Linked DNA regions of Homo sapiens: all the other regions are linked to region 1. Evidence: promoter capture Hi-C in human tissues and cell types (Jung and others, 2019). All regions are on one chromosome and are shown on one strand. The core of a region is centred on a gene start or on the middle of the fragment in contact, and the rest is flanking DNA. Distances in the headings are between cores, read along the strand shown.

Region 1 (2,700 bases), core at 113-2,612:
TGTGCAAAGGTTCCCAAGACTAAAGTGTAGAGGACAGGTAAGATGACACTGTCATGATCATCATTCGTCCTGTGCCCTGTGGACATCAACCCACAGATGTGACATCAACCCATCTGATATTGAGCCCAGTGGGTGGGGAGATCCTAACCCAGCTGCTGCTGTTGAGGACTTGGGTGGTGTCTGGCCAGTGGGAGGGGAGGTCAGGCGAGTTTTCAGCAGATGACCCCGTGCTCTTCGGAAGCCCGGAGGTGCCACACTGTACAAGTGTGATGCCTGGGATCCTGTGCTCCCCTGATGCCTGGGAATGGGGTGAAGGAACAGCCTAGGCTTGGGTTCTCTCCTGGGTTGTTTCGGGACTTGGCCCCAGCTCAGGAAGGGTTTGTGGAGGAGCCAAGGAGGGCCTTGTTCCTGTGGGATGTCTTTGCCTTGGGCACAAGGACAGCCTCTTGCTGCTGCTCTGCCCACCGCCCACCCCTTGGCGGCCTCTGGGAGTCTGGGCTGCTCTCCCTCTGGACCTAACCAGTTGCCCAATGGCTGGACCTGCTTAAAGCTCCCTCTTACAACTGGACCAGGCAGCCAGGGGAGGCACTGAGAGGCCGAGCTTCTGAGCTGGTGCCTGTGGATGCTCGACGGTCCCGCAGCTCCCACAATGGGATGGCCAAGCAGACCCTGAGATCCACAGCCCCCCTTTAGTGAAACAGGAGGGAGGTCGCTGGGCACAGGGAGCCGGGAACGCCTGCCCTCCCCGCCATCGACGGCTCCCGAGGCCTGAACCTTCGCTCCAGCCCCAGCACAAGCCGGCCAGGGCGCAGGGCCAAGTGTTGCCCGCCATTCCCCGGGTACCCCATGACCTCCCAGCTGGGGCTGGCTCGGACTGAGGAGTCGTCCCTGCCCGTCACCCTCTGGGGTCTCCAGTGCTGCGGAGCTCAGCTGGCTTTTGCAGCGGTAGGGGCTGGGAGGAGAAGCTGCAGGGAGACCGCAGGCGTGGGACGTTGTGGGGGGTCAGGCTTGCTCTGGGGCTGGGACCCCGGGGGGAGCAGTGGGGTTGACGCCACAGCGATGACTTGGGCCACGGGTCTGGGGGCTCTCCCGCGGGGCGATTGGGCTCTGTCTTTCGGGATTAGGGTCTCTCCCACAGGGTTTGGGGTTCTCTCTGCAGATTTGGGGGAGTCTCTCCCGCGGGATGAGGGGGGGCTCTCCGCCGCACCCGCCTATGATGGCCCAGAGGACCCGAGCTCGGGTCACTCCCGTCGCCCTCGGGGCTCGGCGAGGGTGCAGGAGGCGGGCGCTGAGCCGGTGACGCGACTCCGGGCGGCTCCCGGGTGCGCCGCATATATAGCAGCGGCGGCGGTGGCGGCGGCCACACCGGGCGGCGGACACGTGGAGGGACCCGGCCCGCGCCTTCTGCCCCTGCTGCCGGCCGCGCCATGCGGTGAGCGCCCCAGGCCGCCAGAGCCCACCCGACCCGGCCCGACGCCCGGACCTGCCGCCCAGACCCGCCACCGCACCCGGACCCCGACGCTCCGAACCCGGGCGCAGCCGCAGCTCAAGGTACTACTGGCGCCGGGCCGACCCTGCGCCCCCGGGAGGCCTCCCCTTCGGCTTTCCTCTGCCCAGGGACGGTTCTGCCAGGGCCCTGGCCCGGCCGCCGCCTCTGCTCCTCCCCGCAGCCCCGGCACTCCTTGCCTCGGGGCGCAGCCCACTCCGGGTTCCGACCCGCCCGCCCTGTCCTTCCCTTCCAGATGGCCCGAGGCAGCGCCCTCCTGCTCGCCTCCCTCCTCCTCGCCGCGGCCCTTTCTGCCTCTGCGGGGCTCTGGTCGCCGGTAAGTGCGGGGCGCGTCTCCTCCGAGCGAAGGGGACATCAGAGCCGGCCGGGCGTGGAGGGCTTCCTGGAGGAGGCAGCCTCCGCCCTGCCCGCGGGGATGGGGGTGGAAAGTGGAAAGGCGGGCGCTGTCCTGGCTGCGGGCGTCGCGGGAAGGGTCCGGGGCTCCCTGGGATTCCCCCCGCGCGCTTCTCCGAGTGTATCAACAGCCCCGGGCTATAACCAGGCCGCCGGGAGAGCTCTGCGCTTCGGGTCAGCGCCTCGGGAAAGCGAGAAGCTCGCCCGTTCCGCAGGGCTTAGTTAGAATGGAGGGCTAGGAGCCACTGGCGTGGCCTCAGCGTCACTAAAGCAGGTGCAGTGCGCTGAGAGTGCGCGGGCTCAGGCCCTCAAGTGAAGTATTTCGTAAATAAAGTGGTTCCATTTTCATGTCAAATATAGCCGACTTAGGGGTAAACCTGGAATTTCGCGAGCTATCCAAAAGCACATGCATTGTTCTAAGTCCTCTGCCATGCCGGGAAAGCCTGGGTGCACCCATTCAGCATAGGCTCCAGGCACAGCCCTGGCATCTGATCCCCTTTTCTCCCTTCAAGGCCAAGGAAAAACGAGGCTGGACCCTGAACAGCGCGGGCTACCTGCTGGGCCCACGTAAGTGACTGACAGCATGGCCTCCCCACTCCTGACCCCACCTGCCCCTCGCTTTGAACCCTGGCTCCTGCCCCTCCGCCTGCGGCTGGGCAGACCCTCTGGCCTCCCTCTTGACCTCATTGCCCGTCTCCATTGCTCTGCACACTTGATCTGTGTACGGTTCTTTCCAGAAGCTTCTCCTGCCCCGGCTCTGCCGCCCTGTCCCGGGGTGAGATTCCCACCCTGGGCTTTGC
Region 2 (2,720 bases), core at 107-2,606, 44 kb before region 1:
CCTACCCAAATCCTATAAAACGGCCCCACCCCATCTCCCTTCACTGACTCTTTTTGGACTCAGCCCGCCTGCACCCAGGTGATTAAAAGCTTTATTGCTCACACAAAGCCTGTTTGGTGGTCTCTTCACATGGACGCACATGAAAGTGGTGATGCACACCTGTCATCCCAGCTACTCCCGGGGCTGAAGCTGGATCACTTGAGCCCTGGGGTTCCAGGCTGCACTGAGCTGTGATCACACAACTGCACTCCAGCCTGGGCAACAGAGCAAGACCCTGTCTCTAACAAATAGAATAAAAAGGCAATTGCTAGGCCAGGCATGGTGGCTCATGCCTATAATCCCACCACTTTGGGAGGCCAAGGTGGATGGATCACCTGAGGCCAGGAGTTCAAGACCAGCCTGGCCAACATGGAAAAAACCCATCTCTACTAAAAATACAAAAAAAAAAAAAAAAAAAAAAAAAGCTGGGCATGGTGGTGTGTGCCTGTAATCCCAGATTCTCAGGAGGCTGAGGCGGGAAAATCGCTTGAACCTGGGAGATGGAGGTTGCAGTGAGCCGACATTTCACTCCAGCCTGGGTGACAGAGCAAGACTCCGTCTCAATTGCTGCATCTTGAGTCTCCTATTGTTGCTGTTGTGAGACCTTGGTTCTCATCTTCTTAGTTTAAAATAATTTAAACAAGAGACACACAGCAGAGGAGAGGTAACAGAGTAATTTATTGCAAAAGAAAAAGAATATTCTGAAAGTTAGATGCCGAATAGACAGTACACCCTGAGAGAGAGAATTCGGGGTGGGCTGCTTGTGAGGATGAGACAGCAAAGACTGGGACTAGGTGTGAGAAACAAACTCGCCTGTCCAAACCCAAAGGATGGACTCAAGAGACCCGGAGAACAGCGGAAGTGGGACTCTTAATGATGGTCTTGTAAGCTCGGGTGTCTGATGAGTAGGCACACCCAGCACGGTTTCAACAAGCAATTTATCCCCTAGTGCACAGGTCTCTCCCCCGTTTCCTCATAGGCTGAGTACTACGGGTCACAGTCTTCCCAGACATCGCCTATCAGTTGTTGGGTTGGGGCTGTAGGTGTTTTATTTTGGGGGGTTGTCCTGCTGCATTTTGTTGCAGCCCAAGCATCTTCCATGGAAGAGGCACTGAACCACCAGGCAGACAAGATCACTCAACCCACTGATGGGAGCCAGCCTTAGTGGCTACACCAACCCAACAAAGACAGGCACATGGACGGAGCGGCCACAGCTGAGACAGAGGGCAGGCATGAGGCCAACAGTGTGGACTGCAACCTCCCAAAACCATCTGGCTCCTTCTCTTATCTGAATGTCCAACCTGCCAGCAACAGGAGACCAGCATCCCACTGCCAGTGTGGCCCAGGTTCACAGGAGACCAACCAGCCACTTGACAGCAAGTGGACCCACTGGGCCTCTTTCATTCTGGAAAGGCCAGTGGTTTGCACAAAAATAGACATCTCTTCTAGGTAGGAGTTTGTCTTTCCTGGCTCCAGGGCCTCAGTTGGCATCACTGTCCAAGCGCTTAAGGAATGTCCTGTTCATCGGCGTAGAAGGGCTCACAACATCACTTCTGATCAGGGAAGCCACTTTGCAGTGAAGGAGATGTGGGAAAGGGTCTGTGTCCCTAGGATCTACTCATTGCGTCTCATTGTTCGGAAGCTGCTGGACTGGCTGGGTGTTGGAGTGGCCTCCCACACGGAGAGCTGAAGCAATGCCCTGTAACTACAGGCCCCGTCATCCCGGATGGCATGGGGACATTGAGTCAGAGGCCTTCATATGGCACTGTGTTCTCAGCAGAAAGCACACATAGGTCTGGGAGCTGAGGGGTGGGAGCAGGGCGGCCCACTCAGCATCACTCCTGGTCACCCCTGTTTGTGTTTTCCATCTCCCCAGTCTTGGCTCTGCAAGGTTAGCGGTTCTGGTTCCAAAGGAGGTGTTTGCTTGCCAGAGGACAGAACTACAAGCTGTAGCTTCCACCAGGGTACTGCAGGCTCCTTTTGGCCCAGCCAGCAAGCCGTAAGAGGAGCCACCCTCTTAGTGGGGGTGGCTGGCCCTGAGCAGCAGGGGGACATGGGGGCTGCTGTCACCTGAGAGCAGGCGGCAGAGAGGAATACATGTGGGACTCAGACACCCGACGTGGGCAGGTGCTTCTTGGCACCCCCTCTTCCGATTATGACCGGAAATGGATCTGAATAGCAACTCTGACCCCAAAAGGGCATGGTTAGCAGGGACTCACAGGGGCTCACAGTCTTCAGGAACATAGGGCTTGGGTCCAGCCACCAGATGCACCTGATGCCAACAGGAGACAGCTGAGCGCCAGGGCAATTTAGAACAGAAAGTAGAGGCGGGGACAAGAGGGACCACTGTGTTCCCAGATGAACGCAGTTGGCTATGGGGCTGTCATTTTTTCCATTAATTTCCCTCTTCTAAATACACAGAGAGAGGGGCCCTGGAAGGGTGGTTTCCCACATGTGTGGAAAAGGGGATCCGGCCAGTGCAAGGGCGGATAATGGCAGACACAGGGTAGAATCAGACCTCCTTAGACAGAGGATGCTCTGCCCAGCAGCTGCGAGGCATGTGGTCAGGGGCAGCCCCCAGCTGCCAGCTCCCCCAGGGTTTGCCTTCCCAGCTCAGCACAGCCAGGGACTGAGCAAGGCAGCAGGACCAAGGTCACTCTCTTATGGGGCGCTCCCCCCAA
Region 3 (2,768 bases), core at 76-2,575, 41 kb after region 1:
AAAATGAAAGAATATATGAGAAAGAAAAATTACAGGTCTATCTCACTTGTGAACAAAGATTCAAAAATCCTAAAGAGCGAAATCTTACAGTACATAATAATCAAATTGGGCTTAATCCCTGGAATGCAAAGGCAGATTAACATTGGAAAGTTTGTTGTCATAGATATATTATGAGATTAAAAGAGGAAAACAATCTGATCATTTCAACAAATACATAAAAAGGCACTCAATAAAATTCACCAGTCCTTTATTATAATTCCGATAATTATAATAATAGCAAATCCCTTAGGAAACTAGGAATAGAAGGAAGCATCCTTAACCTGAGAAGGGCACGTAGCAGAGAAGCCAGTCAGTCCTGCAACAGCCACTTCCCCTTATCCTACAGTGGCAGCAATTGTAGTGGAGCATATGGTTGGCTCACCTCAAGAGTGCATTTCCCAGCTTCCTATTTAGTTGGCCCGACCACATGACTAGGCTGTGGCCAAAGGGCTATCAGTGGAAGTGATTATGACAATGCCGGTCTTGCCATGAAAGGTTAAGGAGTGTGCACTTGCCCTCCTGTTTTCTCTTCCCCAGTGTCTGGAAGATGAACATAAGGGTAGGGGCTGGTGCAGCCTTCTTAGACCACAAAATGCAAGCCCTCCATTGAAGATGTCAGGGCAACTAAGACAGAAATCTGAGACAATAACATTGATTAGCCACCATATTAGTCCTGAAATGGTTGTAGTTTTGAGTCTTTGTTATAGCATCTGAGTATGTATTCTACCTAATAAGGGCATCTCTCAAAAACCTACAGCAACTATCTTATTTAGGGCAAGGCAAGGGAATTTTAGAAATATTTAGAATTTAGGAGGAATTCAACAGTGCCCCAGACCAGAACTTCCATTCATCACTATGAGGTTCTAGCCAGTATAATAAGGCAAGGAAAAGGGAAAAGAGTACAAAGATGGGGAAGGTATCACGGTCCAATATCTGTGATAAGATCATTGTTTAAATAGAAAGTTGAAGGAAATCCACAGACAAATCATTACAAATAAGAAGCAGAATTCATGTCTGGAGCGGGATTGAGAACCCCAAATCAGACCCATGTGTAATCAAACCCTGAGAGCTGACGGGGCTGCACTGCAGATATCGTGGACTATATCTGTGTTTTGCCATACATGGTGCTAGACAATTAATTGTCCGTATGGAAAAAAATAAAATTGAATCCCTACCTAATGCCAATCACGAAAATCAATTCCAGGTGATTTAAAGCTCAATGACAAAAGCAGAAATGTAAAACTTTTAGTAGAAATTCTAACATCACATTTATCCCACCTTGATCTAGGTTGCAGTGAGCATCATTCCATTAAAGACGCTGTCCTGGAGGTGCAGACTGCCTCAATGCTGGCACACTGGCAACACTGCAACACTTTTTGGGTCATCCTGCCCTGTGGCTTGCTGAGAGGGTGATGATACTGTTCAAGGAAATACTCATGATACCCTCTGTCAGATTCACTTCCCACAGGCATATTGAATCATGAAATTTTAGTCTTGGTGGTTGAAAAGACCTAAAATGACAGTTTTTTGTTGTTGTTGTTGTTGGAAACGGGTTCTCACTATGTTGTCCAGGCTGGTCTCGAACTCCTCGGTTCAAACAATCCTCCTGCTTCAGCCTCCCAAAGTGCTGGGACTACAGGTGTGAGCTACCATGCCCAGCTCAATGACATATATTCTAAACTCATTCTTAATTCATTGGCCATCCTGACATATTGCTTGCTATAAAACACTTAATAACATTGAATTAAATATTTAAAACCTTTTAGATGGCTACTTGAGCTGGTAAAAAATTAAGGAAACCCAACAGAGGGCAAAATTCAGAGGGCCAAGCTAAAACTGAAGCCTGAAGTGACCTCTGAAGCATCTGCTGATCCCAGCAACCAAAGGCGCTGGTTTTAACTGCTGCGTGGAGGAGAAAGGGGGAACTATGGCAACCCTAACTGTGGCAAACACTTACAAGGACATGTGTGATCTGCTGGGCTGTGCTCTAGGTGCTTTACGTATATTAACCCCAGTCGAAGGCACACTCAGGGTAGAAGGTCTGCTGCAGGATCCACACATGGACCAGAACTGCGGAGGGCTCTATCTACTCTGGGAACAAATGCCCTGAAAACAAATGGCAAGGAAATGTGTGTGTGATCCTGGCTGGTGGGAGGGGAGGAGGCTCACTTCAGGTTGAAATCTGAATTCATACTGTGCAGCCTAATAAAAAAAAAATTAGCCAAAAATTGTTAGTCATCCAAGTTGGAAGTGCCACCAAGCTCCAAGTGGAAGCAAACAAACCTTCTCTGAAGAGCACATTCTCAAAACAAGCCTCAAAGAACTCCCACAGGGAAAGCCCCAGTGATTATAATTCGCAGTTTAAAAAAATCACAAAATATGTGAGGTTCCAAGCCATAAGGAGAAAAATTCAAGAGATGAAACAAACACAGAATGAGACAGAGACTTTACTATAGTTATGAGCTACAGAGAAGATAATTATTTCATATTTTTAAATTTAAAATAAGAAATCAAAAGTGTGAGTAAGCAACAAGAGACTACCAAAAAAAATGACCATCCAGATTTCACCTTCTACTCCACAGAATTCTGGTGGCAATAATTAATCTAGTTAATTAGAGACAAAAGGCCACGTGAAGAAACAATATCACAGACTGTACAATCTATGCCTGAAATTTTAGGGTTTGGGCTGGGTGCAGTGGCTTACACCTGTAATCCCAGCACTTTGGGAT

Evidence for each region. The method cuts DNA at HindIII sites, captures the fragments that hold promoters and counts their contacts. A contact is called where the count stands out against the background at its distance.
Region 2: a contact is called between a fragment that was not itself captured here and the fragment with the promoter of GAL in region 1, in 4 of the 25 tissues and cell types used here (H1 embryonic stem cells, liver, mesendoderm cells and 1 more).
Region 3: a fragment that was not itself captured here is called in contact with the fragment with the promoter of GAL in region 1 in 1 of the 25 tissues and cell types used here (mesendoderm cells).

Annotation. Positions count from the first base shown.
Region 1 is chr11:68,683,182-68,685,881 of GRCh38, forward strand. It overlaps GAL (galanin and GMAP prepropeptide), which reads left to right and starts at 1,363. Exons shown (of 6, transcript NM_015973.5): 1 at 1,363-1,551; 2 at 1,743-1,823; 3 at 2,413-2,467. The coding sequence starts at 1,743. All of the region lies in intron 2 of LOC107984343 (a long non-coding RNA gene), which reads right to left. RefSeq lists enhancers at 82-757, 1,434-2,109. The HindIII fragment of the contact is 15,033 bases long and covers 1-2,700 here.
Region 2 is chr11:68,639,297-68,642,016 of GRCh38, forward strand. No RefSeq gene overlaps it. Among named protein-coding and RNA genes, the nearest start is that of GAL, 44 kb to the right of the region's middle. The HindIII fragment of the contact is 5,691 bases long and covers 1-2,720 here.
Region 3 is chr11:68,724,073-68,726,840 of GRCh38, forward strand. All of the region lies in intron 6 of TESMIN (testis expressed metallothionein like protein), which reads right to left. Among named protein-coding and RNA genes, the nearest start is that of TESMIN, 26 kb to the right of the region's middle. The HindIII fragment of the contact is 5,580 bases long and covers 1-2,768 here.